Linked DNA regions of Homo sapiens: regions 1, 2, 4 and 5 are each linked to region 3. The links are contacts of gene promoters, found by promoter capture Hi-C in blood cells and fetal thymus (Javierre and others, 2016). All regions are on one chromosome and are shown on one strand. The core of a region is centred on a gene start or on the middle of the fragment in contact, and the rest is flanking DNA. Distances in the headings are between cores, read along the strand shown.

Evidence for each region. The method cuts DNA at HindIII sites, captures the fragments that hold promoters and counts their contacts. A CHiCAGO score of 5 or more calls a contact.
Region 1: a fragment that was not itself captured here is called in contact with the fragment with the promoter of ERICH5 in region 3 in 6 of 17 cell types (naive CD8 T cells, naive CD4 T cells, fetal thymus and 3 more); the score reaches 6.9 in naive CD8 T cells.
Region 2: a contact is called between a fragment that was not itself captured here and the fragment with the promoter of ERICH5 in region 3, in 1 of 17 cell types (non-activated CD4 T cells). The highest score is 5.1, in non-activated CD4 T cells.
Region 4: a contact is called between a fragment that was not itself captured here and the fragment with the promoter of ERICH5 in region 3, in 3 of 17 cell types (total CD4 T cells, naive CD4 T cells and total CD8 T cells). The highest score is 6.6, in total CD4 T cells.
Region 5: a fragment that was not itself captured here is called in contact with the fragment with the promoter of ERICH5 in region 3 in 5 of 17 cell types (naive CD8 T cells, activated CD4 T cells, total CD4 T cells and 2 more); the score reaches 7.8 in naive CD8 T cells.

Annotation. Positions count from the first base shown.
Region 1 is chr8:97,730,734-97,734,301 of GRCh38, reverse strand. No RefSeq gene overlaps it. Among named protein-coding and RNA genes, the nearest start is that of LAPTM4B, 43 kb to the left of the region's middle. The HindIII fragment of the contact is 5,398 bases long and covers 1-3,568 here.
Region 2 is chr8:97,577,848-97,581,601 of GRCh38, reverse strand. No RefSeq gene overlaps it. Among named protein-coding and RNA genes, the nearest start is that of MTDH, 64 kb to the left of the region's middle. The HindIII fragment of the contact is 4,555 bases long and covers 1-3,754 here.
Region 3 is chr8:98,062,244-98,066,126 of GRCh38, reverse strand. It overlaps ERICH5 (glutamate rich 5), which reads right to left and starts at 1,559. Exons shown (of 3, transcript NM_173549.3): 1 at 1,400-1,559. The coding sequence starts at 1,457. RefSeq lists an enhancer at 1,119-1,178 and a silencer at 1,419-1,518. The HindIII fragment of the contact is 8,700 bases long and covers 1-3,883 here.
Region 4 is chr8:97,646,972-97,650,956 of GRCh38, reverse strand. The region is part of intron 1 of MTDH (metadherin); the gene reads right to left. Among named protein-coding and RNA genes, the nearest start is that of MTDH, 4.8 kb to the right of the region's middle. The HindIII fragment of the contact is 3,343 bases long and covers 1-2,992 here.
Region 5 is chr8:97,600,089-97,603,996 of GRCh38, reverse strand. No RefSeq gene overlaps it. Among named protein-coding and RNA genes, the nearest start is that of MTDH, 42 kb to the left of the region's middle. The HindIII fragment of the contact is 4,447 bases long and covers 1-3,908 here.

The sequences.
Region 1 (3,568 bases), core at 276-2,775, 330 kb after region 3:
GACCAGCCTGGCCAACATGGTGAAACCCCATCTCTACTAAAAATACAAAAATTAGCCAGGTGTGGTGGCGGGTGCCTGTAATCCCAGTTACTCGGGAGGCTGAGGCAGGAGAATCGTTTGAACCCTGGAGGTGGAGGTTGCAGTGAGCTGAGATCTTGCAATTGTACTCCAGCCTGGGCGACAGGCGAGACTCCATCTTAACAAAAAAAAAAAAAAAAAAAAAAAAAAAAAAAAGGGTAGCTGATTGCACTCCCAAAGGATTGTAGTAATTTATCCTGCCACTTGCAGTGAATGAATACACTTTCTCTGTATGCCTATTAGCAGCTGGAGTTACAGCTTTTTTTTTTAGAAACTCTGGCCAGTCTGATGGGCATGAAGTGGTAGCTGGCTCATTCTAACTTTAATTTGTATTTTCTTGGTACTAGTAAGTTTAAACATTTAAAAATATGTTTGATGAACATTTTGTATTGTTTATTCTTGGACTGCTTATTCTCATCTGCTTATTTTTCTCTTGTGTTGTTTCCCCTTTGTCAGTTATCTTTATGTATTCTAGAAAGTATTAGCTTGTAATCTATCAAAGGTGTTGCACATTCTATTTTATTTATTTTATTTTATGTTATTTACTTACTTATTTTTTGAGACAGAGTCTTAGTCTGTCACCCAGGCTGGAGAGCAATGGAGTGCCTGGCCTCTAATGTTTTCAAAATAAAACATTTTAAAAGTTTATAAAAAATTGCTGGGCATGGCCGGGCGTGGTGGCTCACATCTTAATCCCAGCACTTTGGGAGGCTGAGGAGGGCAAATCATGAGGTCAGGTGTCCGAGACCAGTCTGACCAACATGGTGAAACCCCGTCTCTACTAAAAATACAAAAATTAGCTGGGTGTGGTAGTGCACGCCTGTAATTCCAGCTACTCAGGAGGCTGAGGCAGGAGAATTGCTTGAACCCGGGAGGCAGAGGTTGCAGTAAGCTGAGATCGTGCCACTGCACTCCAGCCTGGGAGATAGAGTGAGACTCTGTCTCCAAAAAAAAAAAAAAAAAAATTGCCAAGCATGGTGGCTCACGCCTATTATCCCAGCACTTTGGGAGGTCAAGGTGAGTGGATCACATGAGGCCAGCAGTTTGAGACCAGCCTGGCCAACATGGTGAAACCCCATCTCTACTAAAATACAAGAATTAGTCAGGTGTTGGTGGCTGGCACCTGTAATCTCAGCTACTCAGGAGGCTGAGGCAGGAGAATCCCTTGAACCCAGGAGGTGGAAGTTGCAGTGAGCCGAGGTTGCGCCACTGCACTGCAACCTGGGCGACAGAGCGAGACTTCTTCTCAAATAATAATAATAATAATTAAAAAATTGTATACAGTTAAATATGGCCATCTTTTCTTTTCCTTTTTTTTTTTTTTTTTTGAGACAGTCTTGCTCTGTCACCCAGGCTGGAATGCAGTGGCGTGATCTCGGCTCACCGCAACCTCCGCCTCCTGGGTTCAAGTGATTCTCGTGCCTCAGCCTCCTGAGTGGCTGGGACTGCAGGCACACCCCACCACGTCTGGCTAATGTTTTTATTTTTTGTAGAGACAGGGTTTTGCATGTTGCCCAGGCTGGTCTCAAACTGCCGACCTCGTGATCTGGCTGCCTTGGCCTCCCAAAGTGCTGTGATTACAGGCGTGAGCTACCGCACCTGGCCCATTTTTTCTTTTTCTTTTCTTTTCTTTTCTTTTTTTTTTTTTTTTTTTTTGAGGTAGAGTCTCACTCTGTTGCCCAGGCTGGAGTGTAATGGTGAGATTTAGGCTCACTGCAACCTCTGCCTCCCAGGTTCAAGCGATTCTCCTGCCTCAGCCTCCCGAGTAGCTGGGGTTACAGGCGCCTGCCACTATGCCCAGCTAATTTTTTGTATTTTTAGTAGAGGGGTAGTTTCATGTTGGCCAGGCTGGTCTCGAACTCCTGACCTCGTGATTTGCCTGCCTCGGCCTCCCAAAGTGCTGGGATTACAGGCGTAAGCCACCGCGCCCGGCCCCATCTTTTCTTTCCTTTTTTTTCTTTTTGAGACAGAGTCTCGCTCTGTCGCCCAGGCTGGAGTGCAGTGGCGTGATCTCGGCTCACTGCGACCTCCACCTCCTGGGTTCAAGTGATTCTCCCGCTTCAGCTCCTGAGTAGCTGGGATAACAGGCATATGCCAGACACCTGGCTAATTTTCATATTTTTAGTAGAGATGGGGTTTCGCCATGTCGGCCAGGCTGGTCTCGAAATCCTGACCTCAGGTGATCCACCTGCCTCGGCCTCCCAAAGTGCTGGGATTACAGGAGTGAGTCACCGCACCTGGTCTTAGGTGTTATTCTTGATGGTGAAAGGGCCTGGATCTCTGGTCCTGCTAGATTCCTTTTCAGCTTGAACTTGCCAGAGCAGATTCTGGGTTTTAGAACAAAGAATACTTACTGAGGCAAGCTGTTTTATATTTTATTCCACTATTTTATTCCTAAGTCTAGCCCTCTGCTCCTTCCCACCACTGCCCACTATTTTTTCCTTACTTGATCTTTCTCAGATTGTTTATTTATTTTTGAGACGAAGTCTCGCTCAGCCACCCAGGCTGGAGTGCAGTGGCACCATCTTGGCTCACTGCAACCACTGTCTCCCAGGTTCAAACGATTCTCCCGTCTCAGCCTCCCGAGTAGCTGGGATTACAGGCACCCACCACCATGCCCAGCTAATTTTTGTATTTTAGTAGAGATGGAGTTACACCATGTTGGCCAGGCTGGTCTTGAACTCCTGACCTCAGGTGATCCTCCTGCCTTGATCTCCCAAAGTGCTAGGATTGCAGGTGTGAGCCACCGCTCCTGGCCTAAATTATTTATTTTCATGATCTTTGAGGTGTTTTTAAAAAATTCAGGCTGCGCACAGTGGCTTATGCCTGTTAATCTCAGCAGTTTGAGGCTGAGGTGGGCGGATTGCTTGAGCCCAGAAGTTTGGGACCGGCCTGGGCAACAAAGCAAGACCCTGTCTCTATAAAAGATAGGATTATCCAGGTGTGATGGTGGGTGCTTGTAGTCCCAGCTACTCAGGAGGCTGAGGCAGGAGGATTGCTTGAGCCCAGGAGTTTGAGGCTGCAGTGAGCCGTGATTGTGCCACTGCACTCCAGCCTGGTAGACAGAGGAAGCTCCTGTCTGTTAAAAAAAAAAATGGGCCAGACCCAGTGGCTCATGCCTGTAATCTCAACGCTTTGGGAGGCAGAGGCACCCGGATTACTTGAGGTCAGGAGTTTGAGACCAGACTGGCCAACATGGCGAAACCCCGTCTCTACTAAAAATACAAAAAATTAGCCAAGCCTGGTGGCGTGCACCTGTAACCCCAGCTACTCGGGAGGCTGAGGCAGGAGAGTCACTTGAACCTGGGAGACAGAGGTTGCAGTGAACCGAGATCGTGTCACTGCACTCCAGCCTGAGCACCTGAGCAACAGAGCGACACTTCGTCTCAAAAAAAAAAAAAAAAAAAAAAAAATTCTGGTAATCTCACTATCCCGTTACTAATAGCTGTTTGCCATAAGACCTCCTTTGGTGTCTGTCAAGAGTCTCCAG
Region 2 (3,754 bases), core at 360-2,859, 480 kb after region 3:
GGGAGGATCTCTTGAGCCTGAAGGGTCCTGGCTGCAGTGAGCCGAGATCACACCACTGTACCCCAGCCTGGGTGACAGAGTGAGACCCTGTCTCAGAAGAAGAGAGAAATATTTAATAAATATCCACACTGAATATTAAATACCATCTTATGTAGATGATCATATAATTTTCTCCTTTATTTTATTCATATGGTAAAATCACATTGATTGATTTTTAAGTATAAATTAGCCTTTTGCTCCACTTTTGTTTTTTTAAAAATATATTTTTAAATTAAATTTTATTTTATTTTAGTTTTTGAGACAGGGTATCGCTTTGTTGCCCAGGCTGGAGTGCAGTGGTGCGATCTCGGCTCACTGCAGCCTCTGCCTCCCAGGCTCAAACCATCCTCCCACCTTAGTGTCCTGAGTAGCTGGGACTACAGGCACGTACCACCATGCCTGGCTGATTTTTGTATTATTTGTAGAGACAGAGTATCGCTATTTTGCCCAGGCTAGTCTTGAAGTCCTGGGCTCAAGTGATCCACCCACCTCAGCCTCCCAAATTATTGGGATTACAGGCGTCAGCCACCTTGCCTGGCCAGTCTTGTGTTCTTGGAATAAGCCCAGTCTCGATGGGATATATAGCATATAGCCATATTTGATTGGCTCATATTTTGTTTCAGATTTTTGCATCTATGTTCATAAGAGAGAATGGCCTACAATTTTTCTTTTTTGCAGTATCATTATCTAGTTTTGCTATCATGGTCAAGAAGACCCAATAAAATGCAATTGGATCATAAATGCCGCAGATCCCCTTGCCCTTTGGGTGGGATAACTCTGAGGAAAAAGGTCTCCTTGATTTCCCCAGTGGACTCAAGCTCCAGTTACTCACAGTGGCAGTTTGTTTAAGAACCAGCTTTTTTTGGCTGTCTTATCTTTCTTGTTTCTCTTCCTCACTTCCCTAATAATGCTTCCTGACATCACCTCCTTATGTTCAAATCCTTCCCTGGGGATCTGCTTCAGGGGGAACTCAAAGTCAGGATCTTGAGCTCTTAATTCCTGGCTATTTTTGTAGTTTTCTGATGCTTTTAAACAAATGACTTTTGTATTTTATCCAACTTTTCTAGTTGTTCCTGGTAGAAGAGTTGGTTGGGTGTAATCTAGTCTATCATGGCTGAAAGCAGAAATTTAAACGTATATCTAGCATAAAAAAAAGAAACACCATAGTATAATTTGGTAACTTTCCTAATAGTTGGATTCAGTCTTTAATATTTTATCAGTTCTGATGTAAAGTAACCCTGATAAAATAGCTAGTCCTACTCTTTATTTATTTATTTATTTTTTGATACAGGGTCTCGCTCTGTCACCCAGGCTGGAGTGCAATGGTACAATCTCGGCTCACTGCAACCTCTGCCTCCAGGGTTCAAGCCATCCTCCCATCTCAGCCTCCTGAGTAGCTGGGACTACAGGTGCATACCACCGTGCCTGGCTAATTTTTGTATTTTTTGTAGAGACGGAGTATTGCTATGTTGCCCAGACCGGTGTTGAACTCTTGAGCTCAGGTGGTCTGTCTGTGTTGACTTCCCAAAGCTCTGGGATTACAGGCATGAGCCACCACACGCAGCCTACCAGTCCTAATCTTTATAATTCACTTCAAAGTCTTATCTTGGAGTCAGGACTCTCCTGAAGAAGGAACACACTTTGGGACTTCAGGCCAGTTTTGGGCACCTCCACTTCTCCCAGCTGCCTGGATGCCTCATTTGCATGTGGCATTAGCCAAGCTAATAAAAGGTAAACCTAAGTGTATCCTCCTAGCCTCCTTACTGTCTTGGGAGGCTGCCACCTTCCCTGATTCCCCTGTATTCTCTTCAAAGCAGAAAGAGAGACTGCAGATGATCAACCCCACATTCACTCTGATGACAACAAAACCTCCTTTCTCCTGAACAAAAAGAATCCAATTTCTACATAACCTAAAAAGGGAAACATTTCTGTTCTCAGCCACTATTGCATCTTGAGTTTCTTATATATTGCTTCCATGTTCCTAAATTTAAATGATAGCATTTCGTTTGTTTGAGTTGTCCCTAAATAATACACAACTTTTATAAACAGCTTTACTTAAAAGGGACATACCACTTTTTACAGAATATTTTTCAAAAACAGCTTTGAAATCATAGTTAGCATTTAAAGAAGAATGTTGTCCTATTCTTTTTTCTTATCTGTTTTCCCTTCTGTTTCCTTCCAGAACAATCCATTTCAAAAGCCATTATTAGATGGGGTTGGGCAGGTCAGTGACAAAAGGTAGGGTATCAGTGTCTGAACAAGTTCAGGTGCGGAGGCATGCAGGGAGGAAGACCAGGGCGGGGTGTTGGAGCCATGCAGAGTGAGAAAGGCATGCACACGAGGGGCTGATGGGGGCCTGGCACGGGTGTCAGATACCAAGCAAGGTGGGATGCACATTCCTATGGTAGCCCAGCATGTGGCATCAGAGGCCAGGTGGGGTGAGGAGGGCTTTAGATGAGGGGAATCAGCAGCCTGGTGCTGGGTGTGGGAGTCCGAATAGGGTGAGAGGGGCCTGCCTAGGGGAGGGCAACCTGGCAGGGGGGTGTCAGGGCCTACAAGGTGGGATATTACATATAGTAGTGCTCCAATATGTCAAGATATGGAGGAGAGTAGGAGCAAAGTTTCTCACTGTCACAGAAGGAAGTGAAAATATGGAAAGGGAGAAAACTGATGAGCTCTCTACTGTTAGAGTTTGGAATTGGAGATATTACCGTGAGTTCATAGTTTTCAGTATACACAGATGGGTAGATATGGGAATCAATATAGATATGTGTGTGTGTGTGTGTGTACGTGTGTGTGTGTATGCGTGTGCATATGTATGCTCCCTAGCTTTGCTCCTTTTGAGGGCCTGAGTGTAGTACACATCAAGAGCAATGAGCAAATCTAGCACTGAGGTCTTGATTTTTAAGTACCATTCTCCACTAAAAGGATCCAGGACCCCTTGGAGAAGTGGCTGATACAGGGTTTGAGTAGGGAAGCACAGGATGAGCCTGAAATATCTTGTTGTGCCAAAGGATGCAGAAGCCAGCTTGATAGGAATGGATTAAAATCCACTGAATAAAATAGAACCATGATTCAATATGACGTAAATAAGTAAATGACTAACTTGAAAGATTGGTGAGGAACAGGATGTCTATATGTTCTCAAAGTACCTCCCTACAAAATATGTATTAATTACAGAGGGGAGAAGTGTAAATTTACACTGGAGAAGTCTGGTAGATACCACCTTAATCAAGTGATAGAAGTTAACATCACCAATAATAGATTCTGATGGAATGCATCGAGAAGAACTCAGCATCACTTCCATGATATTCCTGATAAAGATGACACAGAACCTGGATTTAATCACAGGGAAACATCAGACACACATGTTCTCTGTCTCTTTCTCTCTCTCTCTTTCACTCAGACACACATTGGGAAATGTGTTGTCATTGACTTCTTGTGATGTGCTACAACTTTCCAATTCTAGAATCCAATCTTAGAGGAGGTTTGAAAAGATGAGGCTCCAAATATCTGTTATAATTATCTATGAAGATTACTTAAAGAACGTGATTTAAAAAAATTGCTGAGTGTAAAATGCATTCATGAAAGAAATGTTCAGACATTTATTTTTTCAAAAGTGAGATAAATGACAAAAATATTGACTCCACTTGTAAGAAATTGAAAAGAGTCATGAGGGAAGGAAGTCAGTATCTGCCCAATATAAATTTTCATG
Region 3 (3,883 bases), core at 310-2,809:
TAGGAGAAAAGTTAGTGAGCACTGTGCATTAGAAATGAATTTTTCCATCTTTTCACATTGTTGTCAGTGAGAAGGGGTTTACTTTTATAATGCTTTTAATTTTTTGTTTACTTCCTGACTTGTCATTGCTTTCCGTTATCTATGGAAACTAGAAATAAATTCTCATACACCACAAAAATAACAGCAACACAACATATTTCTGACTAGGACACAGCGGCTGAGCTTTGAAAAGCATTCCTCACCGTCTGGTGCGCTCTACCAACAACATCAGAGGAAGACATTTCTGTTACTGCAATAACACAAGGTGCTAAGAGAAAATCTGTGAAAAGGAATTCACTCCAGTACAAAATCCCCGCTAAAGTTCGCCTTGCAGAAGACTGTAAACTAGCTTGACGGAGTTTGCTTAACCTCCATAGCATTGTCCAAAATTTTAGCCATTCAAAATCTAAGAAAAGTGAGTCGGCTGTAAAACCCTGTCATTCTCTAATTCATGTAACTGCGTTTATACTTTTCACAGTACTTATCACTGTCAGAAACGATCTTAGCCAATTGTTTCACGTGTTTCTTTTCTGTCTCTTCTATCTTCAATCTCTACAAACAGGGTCACTTGTATCTCCAGCATCTAGCCAAGCACTGGGGTATTATATAGCAGATGCTCAAAATGTCCTTGTTGAGTTTCTTCAGCAAGAGTCAGTGATGACCACTTTTGATCACACATACTTCTCAACTGATACTTAAGCCGAAGATAGGGGAAAGTGTGTCTGACCTATTCAGAGTGCAGGGACCCATTTGATGGAGTGAATGCTCCTCTGGATTCTCCGCATCTTTTGCCATCTTTGATGCTGAAACGCTAATGGGAGGGTAAATGGGGAAAAGTCTTTTTTGTTGGTGTTTTAGTAGAGACGGGGGAGCGGAAGATCTCGCTTTGTTACCCAGGTTTTTCTCGAACTTCTGGTCTCAAGAGATCGTCCCGCCTCAGCCTCCCAAAGTGCTGAGATTGCAGTCGTCAGCCACCGCCCCCAGCCTTGGTAGAAGGCCTTGATAGGACATTTCTCCTGTGTTTAAGGCAATGCCGAGGCTAACCGCCTTAGGGCCTCAACACCAACTCCCCGAGATCCCATCAGCGGACAGGGTGAATCCAGCGCCCGGCCTCGGGCCCCGCGCGTCTCGCAGCGAGCGCCGCGGAGCGCACCAGGGCCGCCGCACCCGCGGTCACAGCAGCGCCGCTCCAGATTTGGAAGGAAATCGCGCTTTGTCCCGGGTTCTGCTCGCATCCTCCGGGACAAGGCCCGGCTCCTGCCAGGCGGGGTGGCCACGGGACACACCCTTTGGACCTCCTGGGGAGTTAGCCCACCCGAGTCCCCAGCCCGGGCGCGGGCGGCGCCGGTACCCTGCTCACCGCTGGGGAACCTGCTGCTGTCGCCGGCCTTGTTGAGGGCGCTGCTGGAGCAGCCCATTGCGGGGAGCGCAGACACCTGTCTCAGCCCTGCGCGGGTGTCGGCCCGGAACCGGGAACCGAAGGCAACTGCACCCGTAGCCGCGGAAGTTTCTCCAGCTCTGCAGCCCGGCTCCCTTGGGCGTAGAGCGCAAGCGCGCAGCGGGGCTAATGGTAGGGGGTGCGCACCTGGAGGAGGAAGGGAGCTGGCAGGAGGTGGAAGGAGCCTGGGAGCGCAAAGCGGAAGAGAGCGGGAGGGCCAGGACGCAGAGGAGGGCAGGGAGGAGTAGAGCCCAGGAGACAGGAGGGGAGACGGTGGAGGGTATGGCACAGTAAGAGAGGAAAAGCCCCTAAAGCAGGGATAGGGAGGATGTCAGGGGGCGAGGGCGAAGCGCTGGGAGGTATCATCTGACTCATCACTAAATAGCCAGGGAGGCGAGGCGGCCTTGGGACTAGGGGCTATTGATTGGTAGACTAGATGTGCGATGACAGTCTTATTTTCTTACATAACTACAATTACCACAAGGAAGTTTAACTTTGATACAGTACGATTTAATCCACCCTCCATGTTCCCTTTTTGCCAATTGTCCAATCCAGGACTGCACGTTGCATTTAGTTGTGTCTCTCTTTAGTTTGCTTTAATCTGAAGTAGTTCCTCCAGTCTTGCTTTGTCGTTATGACTTTGACATTTATTAAGAGAATAGATTTTTTTTTTTTTTTGAAACCGAGTCTCTCTCTGTTGCCCAGGCTGGAGTGTAGTGGCGCAATCTCGGCTCACTGCAACCTCTGCCTCCCGGGTTCAAGCGATTCTCCAGCCTCAGCCTCCAGAGCAGCTGGGATTACAGGCGCCTGCCACCGTGCCCAGCTAATTTTTGTAATTTTAGTAGAGACGGGGTTTCACCATATTGGTCAGGCTGGTTTCGAACTCCTGACCTCAGGTGATCCACCCGCTTCGGCCTCTCAAAGTGCTGGGATTACAGGCATGAGCCACTGCGCTCGGCCTTTTTTTTTTTTTTTTTTTTTCCGGAGATGGAGTCTCACTGTGTCACCAAGACTGGAGTGTAGTGGCGAGATCTCAGCTCACTGCAACCTCCACCTCCCTGGTTCAAGAAACTCTCCCTGCTTCAGCCTCCTGAGTAGCTGGAATTACAGGCATGCGCCACCACGTCTGGCTATTTTTTGTATTTTTTAGTAGAGACGGCGTTTCACCATGTTGGCCAGGCTGGTCTTGAACTCCTGATCGCAGGTGATCCGCCCGCGTGGGACTCCCAAAGTGCTGGGATTACACATGTCAGCCACCGCACCCGGTGAGAACAGGCTTTTTTTTTTTTTAATTTGAGACACGGTTTCATTCTTGTTGCCCAGGCTGGAGTGCAATGGCACAATCTCAGCTCACCACAACTTTCGCCTCCTGGGTTCAAGCAATTCTCCTGCCTAAGCCTCCTGAGTAGCTGGGATTACATGCATGCGCCACCACACCCTGCTAATCTTGTATTTTTAGTAGAGATGGGGTTTCTTCATGTTGGTAAGGCTGGTCTCGAACTCCCGACCTCAGGTGATCCGCCTGCGTCAGCCTCCCAAAGTGCTGGGATTACAGGCATGAGCCATCGCGCCTGGCCAGGCCTTTTTTTAGAGAGAAAGAGGCTGGGCGCGGTGGCTCATGCCTGTAATTCCAGCACTTTGAGAGGCTGAGGCAGGAGAATCTCTTGAACCCGGGAGGTGCAGTTTTCAGTGAGCCAAGCCTGCCCTCCAGCCTGGGTGACAGAGCAAGATTCCATCCAAAAAAAATTTTTTTATAGAGACAGGAGTCTTGCCATGTTGCCCAGGCTGGTCTTGAACTCCTTACCTCAGGGGATCCTCTTCCCTTTGCCTCCCCAAAGTGCTGGGATTACAGGCATGAGACAGTGTGCCTGTGATTTTCTAATTACATTATTCCTTCTATATTGATTAGCTGCCATTCTACTACAAAGTAAGGAAGTGCTTTTCCTTCCCCCCATTTATTCACTTACATCAGTGAGCACTCATGAAGTCTCACACTATCCAATGTAGTATGTTACCATCTGTGAGAGTTTGCTAGGGGTGCTATAATAAAGTACCACAGACTGGATGGCTTGAAGTACAGACATGTATTTCCTCATAGTTCTTGAGATTAGAAGTCAAAGATCAAGATGTCAGCAGAACTGGTTTCTTCTGAGGGCTTGTCTTCTTGGCTGGTAGATGGCCATCTTCTCCATGTCTTCACTTGATCTCCCCCTTGTGCTTGTCTGTGTCCTAATCTCCCCCTCTTATAAGAACACCAGTCATATTGGATTAGGGCCCATATAACCTCATTTTACCTTAATTACCCATTTAAAGGCTATATTTCCAAATACTGTACAGTCACATTCGTAGGTTCTGGGGGTTAGGATTTCAGCATATAAGTGTCCAAGAAGACAATTCAGCCCATAA
Region 4 (3,985 bases), core at 72-2,571, 410 kb after region 3:
ATGACTATTAGAACCAAATGAAATGGTGATATTAGACCATTCTAATCTAAACAATATGGCATAGCCAGGTGTGGTGGTGTGTGCCTGTGGTCCCAGGTAGTCGGGAGGCTGAGGTGGGAGGATCGCTTGAGCCTGAGAGGCGGAGGTTGCAGAGAGCCAAGATCACACCACTGCACTCCAGCGTGGGTGACAGTGAGACCCCAGCTCAAAAAATAAATAAATAAATAAATTTTTAAAAGGCAATTCCATAGTTTCCACTAAACACGAAACATTATGCTAGGTGTTACAATATATAACTCTAGCTGAGGAGCTAGGGAAGGCTTTACAGTTGAAGCAGCACTGCAGCTGGGCCTTGAAGGACAGGTGGAAATTGGTAGAGAGAGGCTGGGCACAGTGACTAACGCTTGTAATTCCAGCACTTTGGGAGGCCTAGGCAGGTGGAGTACTTGAGCTTAGCAGTTCAAGACCAGTCTAGGCAACATAGCAAAACGCCATCTCTACAAAAAATTCAAAAATTAGCTGGGCATGGTGGTGTGCGTCTGTAGTCCCAGCTACTCAGGAGGCTGAGGTGGGAGAGTCGCTTGAGCCTGGGAGGTTGAGGTTGCAGTGAGCCAAGATTACGCCACTGCACTCCAGCCTGGTTGACACAGCCAGACCCTGTTTCGAAAAGAAATTTAAAAATAAAAATAAGAAAAGAAACTGGCCGGGCCTGGTGGCTCATGCCTGTAATCCCAGCACTTTGGGAGGCTGAGGCAGGCGGATCACGAGGTCAGGAAATCGAGACCATCCTGGCTAACACGGTGAAACCCCATCTCCACTAAAAATACAAAAAATTAGCTGGGCATGGTGGTGGGCGCCTGTAGTCCCAGCTACTCAGGAGGCTGAGGCAGGAGAACGTGCGTGAACCCGGGAGGTGGAGTTTGCAGTGAGCTGAGATCGCACCACTGCACTCCAGCCTGGGCGACAGAGTGACACTCCGTTTCAAAAAGAAAAGAAAAGAAAAGAAATTGGTAGAGAGATAGAAAGAAGGGTCTTTTAATAGATAAAAATAATGGCCGGGGGCAGTGGCTCATGCCTGTAATCCCAGCACTTTGGGAGGCTGAGGCAGGTGGACTGCCTGAGCTCAGGAGTTTGAGTCCATGCGTGGGCAACATGGTGAAACTCCATCTCTACAAAAAGTACAAAAATAACCAGGTGTGGTATCGTGCACCTGTAATCCCAGCCACTCGAGGGGCTGAGGTGGGAGGAATGCTTGAGTCTGGGAAGTGGAAGCTGCAGTGAGCTGTGTTCACACCACTGCACTCCAGCCTGGGACAAAGTGAGACTCTGGTCTCCAAAAACAACAACAACAAAAATGAAAATAATCATAAATAAAGAGACACAGAAATCTAGCTAAGCAGAATTATTTCTTGTCTTAGGAGTAATGGTGAGAGACAAGCCTAAGGTAGGGTTAGATCATGAAGAGACTCGAGTGCCATGTCATGAATTTTGCATTTTATTCAACAGGTGATGGGGAAACTACTGAAAGGATGTGAACATCAAAGTCACATGATCAGGGTTGGGCTTCAAAAGACTCTACTCACACGAGTGGGTAGAAAAGATTGGCAAAAAAGAAACTGGAAGCAGGAAAACTAGTTAGGATGATGTTAGAACAGTCTAAACAAAAGGTAATAAAGTCCTAAAGTAGGGCAGTGGCAGTGAAACTGGAACAGAAGTAATGACTACAAAAGACACTGCATACTATTAGAATACAGTCATACACTGCTTAATGAGAATACATTCTGAGAAATGCATCTTTGTGCAAACATCACATAGTATACTGACACAAACCTAGGCTACAAACCTGTACAGCATGTTGCTGTACTGAATACTGTGGCAACTGTAACACAATGGTAAGTGTTTGTGTATCTAAACATAGAAAAGGTATAGTAAAAATACAATATCATAATCTTATGGGGTCATTATATAGGCAGTGCTTCACCTCACAAAATTACAGCCAGATGAGGCAAACAGCCACTTTCCACTTAAAGAGAAAAAGGGGGCTCACATAGGTATTTACCAAGCATGAATAATAGGAGTAAGCTGTATAAATACTTTTGTTGGACATCTTACTATATTATGCATTCAATAATTATTTTTGAGTACCAAGCACTGTGCAAGGCTATCTGGTAGCAAACAAAAGGAAACACTATTATTTTATTCATTGAGCTTAGAGATATGGCAATTACACTATAGCAAATCTTTATAAACATTCCTACACTAATATGCAAATAACTTGTCCACTAAAATAAATTTTTGAGCTGGGTGAGGTTGCTCATGCCTGTAATCCCAACATTTTGGGAGGCCAAAGTGGGAGGATGGCTTGAGGCCAGGAGTTTGAGGATGCAGTGAGCTATGAGCTATAACCGCCACTGCACTCCAGCATGGGCAATAGAGCAAGACTGTTTCAAAAAAAAAAAAAAGACAATTTTCTTTGATATTAATCCTGATTATGTGCTTCCAGTTGAAATTCAAAGCCAATTGTTACAGACCAGTTTTCGCAGACTTCACTTCAATCTAAGTCATTACTCAGATTAAAAATCAAGTGAAAAAATACTTGAGTGCCCATTTAATACAGACTTTGAGGTAGATGTCATGAAAAATACATACAAGATAATAATTTCCAAAAATGCCAGGAACAGGGGTGGGGGGGAAAAGAAAAAATGCCAAGAACTGAGCCCAGTAAAAAGTGGCCCCCCTCACTTTTAATTAGGGAACAAACTGTAATTCATACCCTAAAAGATCTATGGCATGGTTTTATTAGGGGATAAAAAACAAATTGATAAAATAATTTCAGAAATTGCTTATAAACAGGTTGAGGTAAATACAGATTTCGCCACTATTTACTCTACAAATGAAAAATTTGAAAACAGGAGTCGCAAAATTTGGAGTGATTTAAGAGAAAGCTAAAAATAATGGAACGAAAAGATCAGAGATCAGGAATCTACAAGCTTTTTTTTTTTTTTTCTTTTAGGAGACAGAGTCTTGCTGTGTTGCCCAGGCTGGAGTGCAGTCACCTGATCATAGCTCATCACAGCGTCAAACTCCTAGGCTCAAGTGATCCTCCCAACAGTGCCTCCCAAAGTGCTGGGATTACAGGCATAAGCCACTGTGCCTGGCCCAAGCATTTCCACAAGCATTCAAAGTGACTCATTGCAAGTAGCCAGGGATAACACTTTGAAGAATACTGCAGTGTTTTAACTCAACTAAGATTTCCAATTTGTAAACAAGATACACTGAACAGAGCAAGGTGAAATGCCTTACTCAAGTTTAGAGTTTCCCATTCCTGCCAGGCTGACAGAGTTGTCTTCTTTCAATCCTGGGCCTTTGTTGTTTCTCAGGCCTCTCACATTATCTTGCTCTTACTGCCCTCCCTTCCCCCCTTTTTTTAGACAGGGCCTCGAATTGGCTCACTGCAGCCTCCACCTCCTGGCTCAAGCAATCCTCCAACCTCAGCCTCCAGAATAGCTGGGACTACAGGTGCACACCACCACACTGGGCTAATTTTTTAAATTTTTTGTAGAGATGAGGTCTCACTATATTGCCCAGGTCGTTCTTGAATTCCTGGGGGACTCCTACCCACTTTCAAAGTCAGCTTCTGTGACAAGGCCTTTCACGCCCACCTGGGTCCACATCCAGTTGTATCATTAATTTCTTAAGTATATCTTTTTCCACGACTGAAACAAAAAGCTCCCTGGGGAGAAACTGAGCTTTAACCTTTGTATCCCTGTCACAGAGAGATATGCCCATATTGTATGCCTTTTCACCGCCTTCAATTTGTAAGCAGTATCTTGCTTTTCTTCAATACTTAGCACAGTTAAAGGTATCTAATGAGTACCAAACGGCAGCTTGTACTTCTTTGCCCTGTAAAGCTACCCCATAACTGTGGGTCATGCCTCACAGTCAAATGTGAAATGAATTTAGTGGGTCATGAACATTAAAGAAA
Region 5 (3,908 bases), core at 961-3,460, 460 kb after region 3:
TTTGAGTTTTCAGCGAGACCACTTCATAGGTTATATAGTCCTTCCATCCATAGGTGTGATTGTCTCTCTGTGATACTAGCAGCCATTGACGGTTAATGCCTAGGTCCATTAATTCATTAGGGATTGCAGAATGGTGACATTCTAATTCTGTCACTCATTCTTCATTTTCTAGCTGAATACAATTTGTTTACACAGTGGAATAGTTTGTATAGGAAGGCAGGATAAATGCTTGATTCTTTCTCTTTATCAGCTTTCAAAATAATAAGCTGGCTCATTAGTATCCTGCAACAGTGATCAATTAGGCTATATTTTGCTGTACTGCCTTTGCAAACTCATAAAGTAAACATATTGGAAATATTTCAAGCTCTTGCTATTATTATTCATATTTATGCTTGAATTGTTTCATCTCTTGCCAGTGGGGCTCTCTTTAGGTTGGCACCTGAGCCCTTTTGACATGATCCTGTGGTCTGTGGTAGCCCCTTCGTTGTCTGATATGACAAGATGTTCTAAGGTCATGTATTTGTCTGGCCCCTAGAATTAGTTCTTTCTAAAGAGTCTTGTTTCTTTTAGTGGGAATAGTATTTAAGGTCACAATTGGGGCACTAGAGTGCTCATTGCTACCTTTTTTGTTGTTATTTCTAGGACTTCTTATCAAACGGAACTAGGAAATATTTTTGGTTTTGTTTTGAAGATAAAATACTGCATTTGTTCATATTGGTACTCCATACTGAAATTCATGACTACAGGATTTTCAGTTAACCTCTTCTATCATTTATTTCCTTCCTCCCATGCCAAGAATCTGGTCTCAGTGACTCTGGGTATGAGAGAATGAACATCATATAATTACTCATTTGCTTTGTCCCAAGTTATACATCAATCTCCGATACCAACATCACAAACTCTGAAATAATTTTACGATTTTTAAAATTATTTTTTCACAGTTCTTTTTATCCTTACAGTATATCCCATTGGGAATGCCCGTAAATTACTGTGTTTTAAATCACTTAAAGTGGTTCCTCTTTGGTGTTATGCCACCAACTGGATATACATGTTCATTTGTTTCCTTTTATTTTTTGATTTTGAGGATTGCTTTTTCATAATTTAATGATAAATTATTTAAATAATTACATGATCCCAAAGTTATATCTACCCAATGAGGCACATTTTAAGAAGTGTAGCCAGGCATGGTGGCACACACCTGTCATCCCAGCACTTTGGGAGCCCGAGGTGGGTGGATTGCTTAAGCCCAGGAGTTTGAGACCAGCCTGGCATTATGGCAAAACCCCATCCCTATAAAGAATACAAAAATTAGCCAGGCATCGTGGCATGAGCCTGTGGTCCCAGCTACTTGAGAGGCTGAGGTGGGAGGATCACTTGAGCCCAGGGAGGTACAGGCTGCAATGAGCCAATATTGCACCACTGCACTCCAGCCTGGGCTATAGAGTAAGACTGTCTCACACACACACACACACACACACACACACACACACAAAGTCTACCTTCCTTCCTTCCTTTCTCTCTCTTTCTTTCTTCCTTTCTTTCTTTCTCTCTTTCTCTCTTTCTCTTTTGTCTTTCTTTCTGACAGAGTCTTGCTCTGTCACCCAGGCTGGAGTGCAGTGCTGCAATCTTGGCTCACTGCAACCTCCACCTCCTGGGTTCAAGTGATTCTTCTGCCTCAGCCTCCTGAGTAGCTGGGATTATAGGCACCCACCACCACACCTAGCTAATTCTGGTATTTTTAGCAGAGGCCCGTTTCACCATGTTGCTCAGGCTGGTCTCGAACTCCTGACCTCAGGTGATCCTCCCACCTCGGCCTCCCAAAGTGCTGGGATTACAGGCATGAGCCACCATGCCCAGCCTTCTGTCTCTTTTTTCTCTACCGTATTTCCTCCCTCCCCGAGAGGTGAGCGTTATGATTTTTTGTTTTATAATTATCCTTTAGTTTTGTTTTAAAAATATAGAAATATAATCATACAAATGTGTGAAATATAAACAAATTTGTAGACTCAGTTCTTTTTTTTTTTTTTTTTTTTTTTGAGACGGAGTTTCTCTCTTGTCGCCCAGGCTGGAGTGCAATAGCATGAGCTCGGCTCACTGCAACCTCCACCTCCCTGTTCACGTGATTCTCCTGCCTCAGCCTCCTGAGTGACTGGGATTACAGGCACCCGCCACAATGCCCAGCTAATTTTTGTGTTTTTAGTAGAGACGGGGTTTCATATTGGCCAGGCTGGTTTTGAACTCCTGACCTCAGGTCATCCGCCTGCCTTGGCCTCCCAAAGTGCTTGGATTATAGGTGTGAGCCACTGCACCCGGCCTAGACTCAGTTCTTATATGTAGCTGGAGCATGCTATACACACTGTCCTAGATCTGGCTTTCTTCACTTAACAACGTATCCTCTCCCCCGCTTTTTTTCCTTTCTCCCCCGACCTCCTCTCCCTTTGACAGCTGTGGAGTCCTCCACTGTTTGGATGCCCCATGTTTTACTCACCTAGTCCCGTATTCAAGGACATTTAGATTATTCCCAGTTGTTTGTTGTTGTTGCAAATAGTGCTACAATGAGTAGCTTTGTGCATATATCTAATTTTAGTTTTGCCAGTGTATGGTTTTGATCAATTTCTAGAAACAGGGCTGTTAGACACAGAAAATTTGAAAGCAGGACAAAAAGTTTAATTTCATTATTTCTGTAATTATTTCACTTCTCCCCAGAACCCTTCTCTACACCAACAGGAACAATCTTTAGACTACAAGCTCCTCACTCTCATGCTTGCTCTTTTCATTGTACAGAGCATGTAAAGTCTCACTCATTCTCTTCCCTCCAACCCTGCTGAGCACCATGCAACAAAGACCTGCCAGATACCAGAACCCTACTGTTGGAAGCCAGTTGGAATAACTCTCTCTCTCAAAGACATTTATTTTTCTTCCCCAAAGGTACCTATCTCAAAGACATTTTTGATCTTTAAGATGTGTACTTACAAAACTCCACTTGTAATGCCCATGTACATACCTTAGAGATAAATACTTCTACACTTTATTTATTTATTTTTTGAGACAGAGTCGTGCTCTGTTGTCCAGCCTGGAGTGCAGTGGCACGATCTCAGCTCACTACAACTTCCGCCTCCTGGGTTCCAGCTATTCTCCTGCCTCAGCCTCCTGAGTAGTTGGGATTACAGGCACATAACACCACACCAGGCTATTTTTTTTTTGTGTGTGTGTGTGTGTATATATATATATATACATTTTTTTTTTTTTTTTTTTTTTTTTTTGTAGGGACAGGGTTTCACCATGTTGGCCAGGCTGGTCTCGAACTCCTGACCTCAGGTGATCTGCCTGCCTTGGCCTCCCAAAGTGTTGGGATTACAGGCATGATCCACCGTGCCTGGCCCCTCTACACTTTAAATCCTGTGAGTCCCAACCAATAAAGCCTGTAGTCCTTGCTTATATGGAGGAAATAGTGAAGAATAAGTTCTCATTGATTGGAAAATAGCCTTTAAACAAACTCCATAGAAATAAATCCAGTGATGACTGATCACTCCCATTGCTGGTTTTCAGTTCTTTTATCCATCTGTGTCCCTCCTGCAAAGCTGATCTGGTTGCTGCCATGGCCAGGAATTACTTGCTCATCTCGGTTTCAGTGCCATCAACATGCACTGGCCACATGTGGAATGTCTTCTGTTTCCAGCCACTGCTTTCCTCAGCAGTTGGCTGAAAGCTCACATTCTCCAGGAAGCTCATTTGATGAACTCCACTCTGTCAAGATCCTTTTTGTAATGCACATGCCTCAAGTTTAGAGCTGCAGAATTTAGCAAAGAATAATACAAGATGCCCAGTTAAACTTGAATTTCAGATACATGATGAATACTTTTTTTCTTTTTTAGCATGAGACATGCTATACATAACCTAAAAATTAT